2 separate regions of the Homo sapiens genome follow, and region 2 is linked to region 1. Evidence: promoter capture Hi-C in human tissues and cell types (Jung and others, 2019). All regions are on one chromosome and are shown on one strand. Each heading gives the region's core, a stretch centred on a gene start or on the middle of the fragment in contact. The rest is flanking DNA. Distances are from core to core; before and after follow the strand shown.

Region 1 (7,502 bases), core at 1,717-4,216:
AACTCACTGAAGGGGTCCCCTTGAGCCGGAGGGTAGCATCAGAGTTGAGCCTGGGCCCGGTGGTGCTCTCTGAATGCTGGCGTGAGAGTGTGTCCCAAACTTTGCAGAGAGTGGTCACACGCACGTGGGAGGGGGTGTGTCCAAGTGTGAAGCTACACTCAGGTTGGGAAGGGGGTAGACCCTGCTGCCTCAACCTGGGCGTGCTCTACTAGTGCTGGTGGCTCAGTTGGGCCATGCCCTTGCTTTCCCCTCCGACCAACCCAATCCAAATCAGGAGGAACTGGCCCTGGAGCGGCCTGGGAAGCTGGGCAGAGGATATCCTGCCCTGTCGAAGTGTGGGTGAGATGACCTTGGGTTTATTTGCCCTCCCTCCATAACGGGTTTATTTTGCCTCCCTCCATAACACATTCACTCACATGAACACCCTAACCTCCGGGGAGTGGGAGAAAAGGCTGTGGGTCTCAGACCTGTGGGGATGTGAATGCCAGAAAAGAGGAGCGAGAGAAGAGTGAGATGCCGCCACTAGGGGTTGGGCGGATTCCCTCTGGTTGGGCTGTGTTAGATGCCAGGATGCTCCTCCTCCCACTCCTGAGAAAATGAAGTTCCTCACGCATCTGCTGGGCCGCCTCGGGTTCCCGAGTCCTCGTGGCTACACCCTTGGCTTCTGCGGGATCCCCGGTCCGGAGTGGGGAAATCTCACGGTGACCTGGCCTCAAGCGAGAAGGATACCTGGGCCACCGCCCCCTCAAAAGCTAGGCAGATTTGTATAGTTTATTTCGTTTTCGGTTTAATAGAATTTCCCGAAAACTTTGTCCAAAGGAGCTCTGGGAGCAGGCGCCTGGCGGCCCCTGCGCGGAATCCGGCGGTTGTCGGCGCTCTTCCCCCGACCCCATGGCTCACCTACCCAGGTGCAGCCGGGGCTAGACATACTTGGCCTCGGAACCTCCAGGTGTTGGAAGGTGGGGTCTGGGTCCTGCGCTCCTAGAGGACATATTATCCCTGAAGCACTCCCTTATCCTCACTTCACGCGGGAGACCCTCGCGGGGGCTGACACCCTTCTCTCTCCTAAACCCATTCACAGACTCCAGCAAGTGGCATTTTCTGGGAGCGAGTAACCAGCTTTTTATCGCTATCATAGACCTTGTCCGTGTCGGAGCGCCCTCGCGCCGGGGCCTGGTGAACTTTCTGGAAGCTCTCCGCCCGGTCCTCCAGCGAATCACCCCCACCCACTCCTCCCTCCAGCCTCAGCCTCCCGGTGGGCATCTTCCAGGGCTCTTCCGGGGCGCCAGGTTCTGCGGTCTTCGGGTGGGGGCCCGTTAGTCGCACCGTCCTTCCCCCACCCCCATTCCTGGGCTCAGAAGCTGATAGACTGACAAGACGCGGCCCAGTAGTCGTGCCAGGCGGAATGGGCTGCGTCCTGAGGCCGCGACGACCCGGGCCGAGTCTGCGCGCCCAGATTCCCGCCGGCCTGGAGGTTCGAAAGAGCAACGCAGAGACGCACGGTCAAGAGTGGAGGGAGAACGACAGGAACGCTCATTTTCCTCATTATTTAAACGAATTTTCTTTATTCTGAAGGAGAGAGAGAAAAGTAGAGAACAAAAACGAGAGTGACAGAACATTAGAAATTAGAGGGAAAAACAGAATTAGAGGGAAAAACAGAACTTTAGAAATTAGAGGGGAAAAGACACAGAGATAAAATCAGAGCTACAGAAACCGAGGGCGACTCGCCCGAGGGCCGCGGCATTAATTCCAGATGTTTGAAAGGCAACAGCCTTTCAAAAAGGAAACAAAATCTGAAACCTGTTACCTCTTCTGCAGAACGAGCTGTTCCTCAGGGCCGTGACATCAAGACAAGACGAGAATAAGGCGAAAGTTAAAACTGAAAACTGTCCGAGGGGGCCTCCCAGCAGTGACTTTGTCTCTTGCCGGGAAGGTCGGACAGACCGATGCGCGTCCTGAGTTTAAGAGAATCTGCGGAGACACAGAGGCCACTTTTTACTTTCGTTTAGAAAAGAAAAAAAAAGGGGGGGGGGCTATTTGTTCATTTGCAATAACGACAAAAAGAATCCCACCACCACGGAAAAGAAATCGAGATGCTGAAAAGTGAGGAAAAGAGAGCTCAAAAGGGGCTGAGGGACGCGAAAAGAGGGGCGGGGAGAGGAAAGGCTCAGGGCGCGAGGGACGTGGCGGGCACCGACAGGAAGTGCAATCTCATTTCTCTTCGCTGAGCTTCTCTTTAAACACGAAAATCTTCATAAACCACACTTACCCTCCAGGATGACTATCGTATCAGGACTTTTAAAATAAAGTAACTGAGCTTTAAGGAGACAGGAGGAAAAAACCAAAGCAGCCCCCAACTACCCCAAACTCGTCGGATTTGGGAGCGCGCCGAAACATAGCAGGAAGAAGGCAGGAAAAATCGTCCTGGCATTTATGCCTTGAACACCCTCCCTTCCCCACCCCCGCACCCTTGTCCCGCCCCTACCCCGACCGCAGTAATTGAATTGTCACCTGCCCCCCATCCCGCCTCAGGGCTCCAGAGCCACTTGGGAAGCTCGGCTTTGCCAAGCGCCCCAGGCCAGTAAGAGCGGTGCAGCCGAGCCGGCGCCCCAGAAGCCGAGAGGTTACACAAGTCTACGCAGAGAGGCGCACCGGACACGGTAATTAGGAGCAATTCACACGCTCTCGGGCGCACGGAAACTACTTGTCAGGAAATTTTCAACGCTCCTCCTCGCCCACTTTTTTCCACTCCTTTCCTGGCGCGCCCCCTCCCCTCCCAGAGGCACGCAGTGGAGCTTTTGGAGTTTCGAATCTTTCGGACACTGCAGAATGCGGGGCTCCCCGGGCGCGGGCCCGGCCAATCAGAGCGCCGTCTGCCTCCCCTGGCCAATGGCAGGCGCCACATTGTTGTCCAATTCTGTCTAATGGAGCCCTAAGGACCAACAATAGAGCGGGCGAGCGGCTCATTGAGAGTCTGGCAGCGCCGGGCAACTGGGCCCCGGCTGCGCGCAGCGTCCGGCGCGCACCGCGAGGGGACCCGGCACGGCGAGAGTCAGGTCGCGGGTTCCAACCACGCGGCCCGCAGACGAGCCTCCGACCCGGATTTCTGAAGGGAGGGTTGGACTGCGCTGCGTTCTGAGGGGTCCGGAAGTTCGGACATGGTGACTGAAGGAGGGTGACGTGGTCAGATAAGGGGCCGGGGGCAAAGGGAAGCGGCCAAGAGCTCCAGCGTCGCCAGTGGAGCCGGGAGGCGCGTGCAGCGCCAGCGGAGGAGGAGGATCCCGGAGCCCAAGGCAGGTAGTTGAGGGCCGCAGGGAGAGCAGTGGGTGGAGACCTGGTCTGCGGCCCCTGTTGAGGAGGCCTGGGCCCCGTGGGCCTTAGGGACGCCCGAAGGGTCTGGGAGAGGAGGCAACGCTCATAGAGAGGAGGTCTGGGACTCTCGGACGGAGACACAAGGACTCTGTCGCGGGCTCTGGCAGGGACGGGGAACGCGGGAAGCAGAGGAGACCGCGGCAGAAGCGGGGAGCTGGGCCTGCTTGGGCCTTATGGGGCTGCGGCGTGGGAGGGACTCTGGTGTCCGTTTATGGCCAGTTGCGAAGGCGACTCCCCTGGCTTGGTGCGGCCTGCTGGGCCATCCGTGTCCTAGGACCCCAACTCTGAGATCAGAACGCAGGAGCCTGCGCTCGAGAGGGGTCCCCTGGGACCCCAAGACGGGGAGGGCGTGTCTGACGACTCTGTCCCTAAACCCGGAGGGGAGGGGAGGGCAGTGTGAGGTGGTCTTCGAGAAAGATCCCCCTCCCGAAATGCCTAACTTTTCGCAGGATACGTCTTCCGCCCCGACTACTACTCCAGACTGCGAAGCTAAAAAACTGCACCACAGGTTTTACCCAATCCCCTCCCCCAGCATTTGCCTGTGGGGTTTTTTCTTACACATTCCCCTCTCCCAGGCGCGGCCCCTGGATCCCGGACACCCAGATCAGCTGCTTTTCACTGTTTTCCTTGCCCATGAAGCTCATCTTTGGGCTGGGTTTGCCTATACAGAAAGTTTCTTTGGCCGAATTTTTCTCTTTAATACTTCCCAGTCCTAAGCTAAATTCCACATACATTTTGTCTCTCACTCTCTGGAGGCCCTCACCGTGGAACTTTTGGCGCTCACATTTTTACGGGTCCCAGAGCCACTGGGCCTAACTTTGCCCAAGTTGTTTCCTCGTCCTCACTCTGCTTCCTAAAGCTATTCTTTCTGTTGTTGATTTTTCTCTCCAAAGCTTCTGCCCCAAACTGCATTAAAAATAAACAAACAAAAAGAAACAAAACTCCGGCCCAACCGGCCTTCACATCTGCGCCTTCACATCTCTCTCCTCTTCACCCTTCCACCAAACTGACCGTTTTGCTCCGGGTTTTCCTGTTTTGCCCTTGGCATCAGCCTAACTTCTGGGCCAAAACTGTCGCTCTAATCCCAGTCCCGTCAAACGAGCATTTCTCTCACCCGTCTCACCCCAATTAGGCTAAGCTTTGGGGTATCATCTTAACTTTTCCAAATTCTCATTACAGCCATCTGAATCAGTGACTTTCACACTTTACATGTCTCTTTATTTTTTCCAGCGGAATCACTAATTCAGACAAAATCTTACCCCTAGCGTGTATATCAGGTCTAAGAGCAGCCATGGCCAGACTGGGGTGAAGGTGCTAGGGCTCACAAGGAGGTTCCGACTGCACCTCCTCCCAGCAATTCTGGCCCCTCTAGCCCAGCCTCCGCGGCCCAAATTTCCCTCTCCAGCTTGGGTTCCTCAAGGCGGCGCTTTGGCCTAGCGCGCGGTGTGCTCCTCACCAGGTCTCTCCCCTCTCCCACCTTCTTTCCCGTCAGGTCCTGTCATGGAGCTGCGCTCGGAGCTGCCCAGCGTGCCCGGCGCGGCGACGGCGGCGGCGGCAACAGCGACGGGGCCGCCTGTGGCGTCGGTGGCGTCGGTGGCGGCAGCCGCGGCGGCCGCTGCATCGCTACCGGTGAGCGTGGCAGGCGGCTTGCTGCGGGGGCCGCCACTGTTGCTGCGGGCAGCCGAGAAGTACCCGCGGACCCCCAAGTGCGCGCGCTGTCGCAACCATGGCGTGGTGTCGGCCCTCAAGGGCCACAAACGCTACTGTCGCTGGAAGGACTGCCTGTGCGCCAAGTGCACGCTCATCGCGGAGCGCCAGCGTGTCATGGCGGCGCAGGTGGCGCTGCGCAGGCAGCAGGCGCAGGAGGAGAACGAGGCGCGCGAGCTGCAGCTGCTCTACGGCACTGCCGAGGGGCTGGCGCTGGCCGCCGCCAACGGCATCATCCCCCCGAGGCCCGCCTACGAGGTCTTCGGTTCAGTGTGCGCCGCCGACGGCGGGGGACCTGGAGCGGGAGCGCCCGCGGGGACCGGAGGCGGAGCAGCTGGCGCAGGGGGCTCAGGTGAGAGCGCGGCCAGGCCGCAGGTAGGGGCAGCAGGATCGTAGCTCTGGGGCACGGGGCCCAGGGGCTTGTCTCGGTTCAGAAAGAGTAGAACCCCCGTGTCCAGTCGCCGCGACTGCTAGGGTTCACCGCTCGCCCAGCCTCGGGTATGGAGCGTGGGTACAGAAACTCTCCTTTCTCCCGCTTCTGGAGCATTTGCACTTTACCCCTTTCTCCTGCATCGGGCCGAAATGTACACGCTTTAATTTTTTTACTCGCCTCTACCCAAACGCAGGCAGGTCCCTGCTTCTTTGCTTCGTCTTCTCCCCAGGTGGAAACCTGCGCATCTTCGTTCGCTCTGCGCTTCTCCACAGGCCCTTTCCCTCTGCTCCTTCCCAACTCCCTTAAGGAATCCCCCCCCCTTTAACTGACACCCTAGGTTTTGAGACGCCCTAGGTTCTGAGACGCCCTAGTTTCTTTTCCCCTTCTCGCGTTCCTAACGCCCTCTGGACAACCGCTTGCTGCGCCCTCCCTCCTTCTAGTTTCTTCCGCACCCTCCCTGGTTTCTCAGGTCTGCTTTCCTATGTCTTTTCCTCTTCGCTTCCTACTGCCTGCCTAGCACCACCCTCTTTTTCTGGACCCCCGTGGCTTTTTGTGGGGAGGGAAGAAATTAGGCCAGAGCCGTTGAGGGAAAGGAGGGATCCGCTCTAAACTTGGGAGGGAAGAACTTCTCAGGTCTCAATTTTGGAAAGGGTGGATTAGAAACAGGGGCTGTACTTCTGCCTGTAGAGAAGCTTGGGACCTCCTAGATAACCAAGGCGCCTTTCCTTACAGGCTGCACTGCCAGGGCAGGCATTTTCTATACAGTGGGCTCTTCTGTACAGCGTGGTTAGGCAGAAGTTATGTTGTCTCTTGTTTGAACCCTGGACCTGGCCACTTCTCCACGGCAGGGCAGGACTGGAAGGGCAGTTAAGGGTGGAGGTGTTGGGGCACAGACGTGGGGAAAGCAGCACTGAACATCGAGTTTACAGGGCACAGGTAGTTGGGGTTCTGAGGAGTACAGAAAGAGAGGGAGCCCTGGGGTCAGGGCTGTAGGGGCTCAGAGCGGAAGGAATGCTAGAGCAAAAAGAAAGAGGGGCACTGGAGCCTAGTGAATAAGGGCTGTGGGGCTGAGGGAGAGGAAACTGAGATCCAAAGGGCCGAGGTGCTGTGACTGCTGTCTTCTAGCTAACCGCTCCTCACGACACGTTTTCTCCCCTCCCAGAGGCCAAGTTGCAGAAGTTTGACCTGTTTCCTAAGACGCTGCTGCAGGCAGGCCGCCCGGGCAGCCCGCTGCCGCCGCCGGTGAAGCCCTTATCACCCGACGGCGCAGACTCGGGGCCCGGGACGTCGTCCCCAGAGGTGCGGCCCGGCTCAGGCTCGGAGAACGGCGATGGCGAGTCCTTTTCTGGTTCGCCCCTAGCTCGGGCCTCCAAAGAGGCAGGTGGCAGCTGCCCAGGCAGCGCTGGCCCTGGCGGCGGCGGCGAGGAGGACAGCCCGGGCTCCGCTAGCCCTCTGGGCTCTGAATCCGGTTCAGAGGCTGACAAAGAAGAGGGTGAGGCCGCGCCGGCGCCAGGGCTGGGCGGAGGCTCGGGTCCACGGCAGCGGACGCCGCTGGATATCTTGACACGCGTGTTCCCAGGCCACCGGCGAGGCGTCCTGGAGCTGGTGTTGCAGGGCTGCGGCGGCGACGTGGTGCAGGCCATCGAGCAGGTGCTGAACCACCACCGTGGGGGCCTGGCGGCCGGCCTGGGCCCTGCGGCGCCCCCAGATAAGGCCGCCGTGGGTGCTGCAGCAGCTGCAGACGACGCGTGGCCCAGCCGCGTCGACGCCGCCGCCGCCGCCGCCGCCGCCGCCGGGGGGCCTGGGCTGCCTGCGCCGCTGCAGGCGGGGCCCGCCGCACCTCCGCACCACAGACCCTTGCTGGCCGGCGCCATGGCGCCTGGGGCGCTGGGCTCGCTGAGCAGCCGCTCGGCCTTCTCGCCGCTGCAGCCCAACGCCAGTCACTTCGGTGCCGACGCGGGCGCCTACCCGCTGGGCGCGCCGCTCGGCC
Region 2 (7,502 bases), core at 2,409-4,908, 280 kb before region 1:
GAGACTATCTTTTAGCTTAGAATATGAGAAGAGTCTATTTATAGTGTCAGTATTTTCTTCAACACGACCAACCAGGGCCACTGTTTCAAAAGAGAACCTCCCCCAAGAGAGAAGAGGTACCTTGTTGGTATGCCTTGGGCCCCAGCCACCTAAAAGCTAGTAATTCTATCTTCATGGAGGGTGGGGGGAACATTTAAGGCTATGACAGGACTTATGTTTAGAAACATTGAAATGATGACTATGTTGCATTACACCTTATAAGTTATGAAAGCAACAGTCATTTGTCTACTAATTTTTCTAAAGAGAATTAATCATGCTTAATCTTGGATTATTTTATAATGTTTTTCTTAGACTACATTTCTTAAAATAATCACTTAATGTCATTTTGAAAGAACCAGTTTTCACCCTAGTGTTTTCTTTCAGAAATATATGAACTGTTTCTGTAGACTATTAATGGTTTCCTTTTTTATATTGTGTTAATGAATTTCAGCTTCTGAATTTGACATGAATAACTCATTGCTTTATTTTCTTCATTGATTACTTGAATAGTTTGTTGACTCTAGAAACTAAACTCTTTAAAATTTTTTTCTGATCTGATTCCTAAACTGAATTGTAGGTTTGCGTTATTTAATTTTTTTTCAGGATTTTAAATATGTATAAATTGTAATTTCATTTTCAACCTCCATAATGAGTATTTTATTCTCTAAATTAAAAAACTTAATTCCTTGAAGAATCATTTGTGTTTTTATGGTAGAAATAATGTTTTGCCGTGGCTCCATCTCCGAGTTATTATAGCATCTGAAATTTTACAGGATAGTAAAATCTAAATTGTATATGTGAATATATGAAACAAGGAAATTTAGATTTAAAATAACTTCAGTTTAACCAACATGACAAAGATAAGAGGTAAATTCATTTTATTGCTGACTTGATAATTGAAGAATAGTATAATGTATGATGAATAAATATAGTTTGCCTTTTTTTCCTTCGGGGTTGAATTTTCTAGCCATAATTTTGCTGCCACCCTCTCAACCCCCACCCCTAGTTTCTGTTATTTGAGTGTGTTTCAGCTTTCTCCCACAAGAGGGCAGAAAGGACTATTCAGCAGATAGCCTAAAAATGCTATTCAGTGTTTTCAAATTAGCTTCTCTTATATTAACAAAAAGGAGCATAATGGCCAAGTTATTGTTTGATTTACAGATAATTGGCATATTGCAGGGAGGAGACTTAATTTCACCCTTTTAAATTAAACAGGGAGATTTAAAAAGACATAAAATATTCATTAATGTTCGGTGATTATAAAGTAGTGGCATATATTTATTTTGCCTTTATTACTGTTTCGATGGGAAAATACTGCAAATATTTCCGAAATCGAGTTGGCCATACTGACAAGTTGAAATGTTTAAGCAGCGTTAATGCAATCTGCTCACACCTGATATCCTATGCAGAATGATTCAAAATGACTACATCAATTATTAAAAGAAATATTTAAAATTCTGTAAATGTGCCATTGTGTGCCACAGTTGGCTGAAACTGTTCTCCGTGGCCTGCTATGTAGATTATCAAATATATCTTAAGCTTCAAGGACTTAAAACAGTAAATCTTTTTTATACCATTTTCTAAATGTCATTTTAAAAATGTTCCAGAAATATTTTTGCAAAGACAGATATTCTTATGTATTTCTTGTCAAGAATTTGGTTTCTTCTCCTTTTTCCTTTTTTTCCCTTTAAGTTAATTTAAAATAATATTTTTAAATGCTAGTTTGCCAGGAACAAATAAATGCAGTTGCTACTTATGTCACTTGCTTCTCTGTGAGTAGACAGGTACACATAGGCTGTTTTATTCTGTACAACTTAGATAAAGGATGTGGGACCTCTCTGGGCCTAGTTCTGTGACTTTTCTGCTTCAACTTGTGCAACACCTGTGATGGAGGGGGTAGTTTCAGGTGAAGGACAAGGTGCCCTTATCTACAGCTATTCAATCCACAATGACACTTAAGTATGTACATTTTTTCTTGTTGCATGATTGGAAAGTTAGTTTGATTGCATCAAGATAAAAATATAATTGTGAAACTATTTTGTAGTTTTATTTTATAATGCTAGTATTTGTCTTTTATTAATGTGAAAGCTTAATGATACCATATGTGCTAAATTGTAAATTAATCTATCTCACCAGTTTCAGGAATTTCTTTTCAGTATTAATAGGTCCAAGAATAAATCCTGACTAATATAATTGAGGGAAAGGAAAAAATGTTCAAAACACAAAGGTTCCTGGTCATTTTTTTAGTGTATTTTATATATATATTTTTTTTAATTTTTGAAAGCCTTGCATTTTTAAAAGAAAACTTTGCACTATTTTTCACCCAGAGGGAAATTTCTATTAAATGAAACAGGATTGAAAAAGGCACTATGATTTCAACTTTTAATTAGAACAAAGTACATTTTTTTAAAATACTGAGTTAGAAAATAGAACTAAAATGCAGTTTGAATTTCAAATAAACTATTCAATGACCATATGGTCATTGCAAGTTAATGGTGATAAACCAAGAGTTGTACAAGTGTTTGTTCATTCTGGCTTTGTGGTCTGCTGCCTCACAATGCGTGACTTGTGTCCTTTAGGTGCTCTAGATTTTAATTTAAGCCAGTTAGTTATTGAGGGTTTTCATTTTGATTTTGTTTTTTTAAAACTCTGTACAAATCCTTCCAGTTACATTATCCTCCTGGTTGGGGAGAAAGCAGTGACAGTATAAAAAGGTCAGAATGGAGAGAGTTGCAAGTAGTCTTAAAGACGAAAAATCTTTTCTGTTTTCCATTATGACCAAACAGCTTGTAAAAAATATCAAAGAATGTGACAGTAACTCTGTGATAGTCTGTCTTTTCAACCTTTTTGGGTCCTAAATTAACTATTTGTCACACTTTAAAATTGTGAGTTTCCTTAAATTTAAACAGGCTTACCTTATTTTAATGAATTTTTTTTACGCTGAGAATTCAGATTTGTCAACAGTTTATTGTGCAGATTCTAGTAATTCTCACTAATACTATTAAAGATCTGTGGTTACAAATGCACTTGGGGTGGGTTAAATTAAGGGGAAAAAAGATTGATTTGCTTTCAGCAAATCCAAAACCCAGGTGTGGAAAAGGATATGAAGTCTCTGAAATCAAGCCAACTTTTCTTGGAAACTGATTCTTTGTTATCGGCCTTACTACTGCAGAAGCTTCTGTTAGGCAAAATATTGTTTTCTTTGTAGATGTCATATAAATTTAAGGAATATACACATGACCCAGAATAACAATAAGAAACCTAAGTATTTTTAGTGCAGAATTATGGAGTATTACTTATCTGTTACAACAAGAAGCATGATGAATAGCTATTGGAATTATTTAAATCCTCTTCCAAGTTTCACTTTACCTCAGAAATCTCACTGTTCTTATTATTGTTGATTTAGTTCTTAATGGCATGAAAGGGGAAAATTGGCAACCTATAAAGATATATCTTGCAGGGAGTAGTAAAACATTTCAGTACTATTACAGTTTGTACAAAGTAGTGATTAAATGGGAAGCCAATAGAGTTGAATAAGTCTCAGGAACTGAATGAACTAAATACACAGATTATACCAATCCTTAAAAATAATCTGGGCTAAATAATGATAAGGCTAACTCTGATTCTGAGCATTTGAACCTAACGTCGGATTTTGTATGTTGTGTCTATTATTCTACTTGCTACTTTCTTAACTTGCTTGACTAGCGTATATTTTGGACTATTCTCCTTTAATGCTGGTGGCCAGTAACAGTAATTAAAATATGTAGTCTTTCACAGATTGTGCTAATTATTGATGTTCTAGTAGTGGGTTGACTATAACTCCTTAACTAACATGGCCTTTCTGTAAATGTTTTAAAGTATTGGGTGTTTTTTTTGGTTTGTTTGTTTTGTTTTCCAGTATGGGGAGGGTTGGGGTTGCTGGCACAGAACTGAAGTAAGAGTAGGGTAACTGAGAATGTGCATATGCAAGAGGGTAAATTAAGTTGTGTGCTTATTTAATTAAAAGTGTAAGTGGTTTGTTTTTACTGCAAGATAAATGGCATATATTGGATCAATTAGAATGAACCAATTTAATTAACATATATTATAGTTTGATTTTTTAAAATTTGAAATCACGAATGACATTTTAGCAAGAATGAAAGAGATAATTTCTTCTGCAACTGGGCAGTGAATTCAAGCCTTTATTCAGCTTTCAGAAAAGACGATTATGCATCTTTTAAATATGCATATATATTATTAGTTTCAAGTTGCATTTGAAAACTGAGATCTGTTGAAATCATACCACTTCAAATGAATATAAATCAGTAGGGATCATTTTATAAATATTGAGGTTTCCTGTGATTCTTAACAAATTATCCCCTGAAGTAATAAATTTAATATTTATAATGCAGCTCTTTGGAACTGACAAGTCTTTTCCCCTCTCTGGAACTATTTTAGAATAATCTGGATTGGATATCTTTTTTGGCCCATATAAGTATTTGTCTACCTGCATTTCAAGACGATAGAAGCAATGACATTTTAAGAATTAAGAACAGTCTTTAGCCTTTTGTTACTTAAGATATGTGTATCAAACATGATAGCTGACCACATTTCATCATCTGTGATTTATGTGTTGGTAGTTTTGAAATGCCTGGGTTAAGAGAAATTCCGTTCAGTTATCAGAAACTAATAAACATAAGATTTTTTTATATGCAAGAAAAGGCAGAGAGTAAATAATTGCACTGGTGACCAATACTGTAATAATCCTGTTTTACAATATGCACTTGACAGGTTGTAATAGTGCTAATTGAAGAGACTAATTCACACTTGCTTCATTCTATTCAAAGGCAAAATCAGCAGCTTGTTTTGCTTTTGACCAGATGGTCCTCATGAACACCTACTGTGCACTTTAAGTGCTTTACTAGAATTACAAAGGCCGGGGGCTGCGTTCGACTCCAAATGATTTGAGAAGAGAGAGAGAGAGGGGGGAAAAGAACCTCTGTGCTCAATGGATTTGGTGCAAGTAAATTAATTCTAGTGGACCCATTACACACAGCCCCCTTTTCAAAGCTCTGAGCCTCCTCGCTTGCTCTGTAGCAATGAGAAAGAGAAAGGCAGATTACTGCAAACAGAAATAAAAAAAAAAAGGGGGGTATGAAAGGGAGAAAAGAGGCCTTGAAGCCTTTCATATCATTTGAGTTTTTCAAGTGCGTTATTTTTGGGGAGGGTGGATGTATGAAAAGCCAATTGGAGTTTTTTTTGTTTTAAAGTGCGCTATTTAAGCACCATGAATATAGGCGCAAGAGCAACAGTTGACTGAGTTTACTGTGGTGAAGCTTTGTGTCCGAGGATGAATCAAATTCATTATATTCAACTCTTTGTGTTTTAACATGAATGTAGGGTTAGTTTCACAAGACTGTGTCTGTTTAGGATAATTATAATTTAATATTTTCCTTTCATAAAGTTATCACTGTAGATGTCTAAAATTTTAATCAAAGCAGATTTTGTACATTGACTTTGAAGCACCCTGACAGTTTAAAATTCAAAGGAAAGCTTTTTTAGTTTTCAAAAGAAAAGGAAGGCTCATTCTAATGGCATTGAAGCAGAGATTATTATAACTAATTAGAAGTCACACATCTGTTAGCTTTTGGTTTCTGACTTACTTATGTATTTTTTGAGTAAAATATATACTTTAAAAATATATTGCTGTTATTGTGTGAACCTAAAGGGATAAAATGCACTTAAAAGAGAACCATTTATTTGAGCCAACCATTTTTTGCAAATCTCTAGATGGTCCTATAAAAATATGTAATGTAATAAAGTACATTAAGTGTGAATTGCAGTTGTATAATTAATAATCTTACTTTGGAATATGCTTTCAAACAATATTTTCACACAGTTCTGTTGTCATAATTCTGATTATTAACCAAAGTTATGAGATTAAAAAAACCTGTCCAGTTTGTACAAATTTATAGTTATTCCTTATCCTTAAAGCTGTTCATGTATAGTACTGTAATTTGGAATACTAAGACTGTGAAATAATTAGTTCTTATTGTAAACTATGTGGGTTAGGATACAAGGAATCAAATTTAGGAATATACATCACCTGCTTTTTATGTTTTTGTAGTTCTAAATTTAATTCTTGTGATATATTTTAGTGGCATTGTTTACTTTTGTTTGATGGCATATATTACCGCCACCATGTTCATTTTAATTTTAATTATAGCTATTATCAAAGAATACAACAAAATCATACCAATAGTTCATCATGATAATTGTAAATGTTTCATAGTCTTCTTAAAGTTTGTATCGTCTCTTCAAATTAATGTCTAGAATTTATATTTTAAAAGGCATATTGCATCAATAAGCTTTTTATGTCAATAAGTTTTAATTACATTTTTAGAAAATAAAACACAGAAATGCACAAGCAACCCCAAAAATCTTTTTTATTTCTTAAAGACTTCATTTAAGAAGGTAGCATGCCTTTTATATATTTAAAATAAAATTTGATTCATATTAATGTACTCATACTTTGGGAGTGCTCATTGAAATGTAAGTTATAGGGTGAGGAGGGATATAAGGAGAATTCCCAAACCTTCCACCAGCAAAATATACAATGAAATTTGTAAGTAATGAGGCATTAATGAATTGATATCCTTGGGGAGAAAAACATTTCAAGAAAAAATATGAAAGATTAAGAAAAACTCACTGCAAAAAATTTTTTGCAGCAGACCATTTAAAATAAAGGTAAAGGTACTAGATTTCTTTCTTGTAGGTACAATAAAAAGCTATCTTTAAAGGCAGAACCTCAGTTAGCAGAAGTGGATTGATCATGACCATGTAGTCACTTACTTAGATGGGGCTGATTCTTTGGTTTCACAGAGACAGTGCTCCTCATGCATGAAGAAGAGGTTTTTCTTTTTCAGTATTAAAATATTAACTCCTAGATTCCTGAATGCCAGAGACAAGGTTATTTTCCTAGGGTATGTGTTGGGAAAGGCTATAATTTCTTCATAGATGTGGTAAGTACCACATTACTTAAGCTGAGAACTATTTTAATGTTTAACTATCTTCTAGTCCTAAGATAAGAAATAGTAACCAACCTCTTCATTCCTCCCCAACCCTCTGTAAAACAAACACACACACACACACAAGAAATTAAACCAAAGGATGGGTAAGTGAATATAAAGTGCTCATAAATATAAGCTGGACCAAGACTTGGCATATTAAGATAAGGCCTGCATGTAGAAAATTATTTACATGTTTATCTTTATATGCCAAAGGTTATTTGGTTACAACCTCTTCAAATATCTGGTTATGGTAATTTTTCTTTTGTCTAATGTGTCTTGTGTATGACTCAGTGTTATACAGTTAAGGAGTTTTTCTTTTTCAAACATACTTTTTGTGATAAATATTCTTTTAAAAAATCCTGCTGCTCAATATAGGGCTATAGTATAGTACCTTATTACCCTCAATGTACTCCT

What was found. The method cuts DNA at HindIII sites, captures the fragments that hold promoters and counts their contacts. A contact is called where the count stands out against the background at its distance.
Region 2: a contact is called between a fragment that was not itself captured here and the fragment with the promoter of DMRTA2 in region 1, in 1 of the 25 tissues and cell types used here (IMR-90 fibroblasts).

What each region holds. Positions count from the first base shown.
Region 1 is chr1:50,418,907-50,426,408 of GRCh38, reverse strand. DMRTA2 (DMRT like family A2) reads left to right here and starts at 2,966. Exons shown (of 3, transcript NM_032110.3): 1 at 2,966-3,293; 2 at 4,865-5,431; 3 at 6,675-7,502. The coding sequence starts at 4,873. LOC105378714 (a long non-coding RNA gene) reads right to left here and starts at 2,863. Exons shown (of 3, transcript XR_947325.3): 1 at 2,512-2,863; 2 at 1,808-1,971; 3 at 1,537-1,569. RefSeq lists a silencer at 1,784-1,843 and enhancers at 4,671-5,170, 6,406-7,355, 7,356-7,502. The HindIII fragment of the contact is 21,358 bases long and covers 1-5,357 here.
Region 2 is chr1:50,697,815-50,705,316 of GRCh38, reverse strand. The region is part of intron 7 of FAF1 (Fas associated factor 1); the gene reads left to right. Among named protein-coding and RNA genes, the nearest start is that of FAF1, 260 kb to the left of the region's middle. RefSeq lists enhancers at 4,407-5,071, 5,072-5,737, 4,203-5,794. The HindIII fragment of the contact is 3,610 bases long and covers 1,854-5,463 here.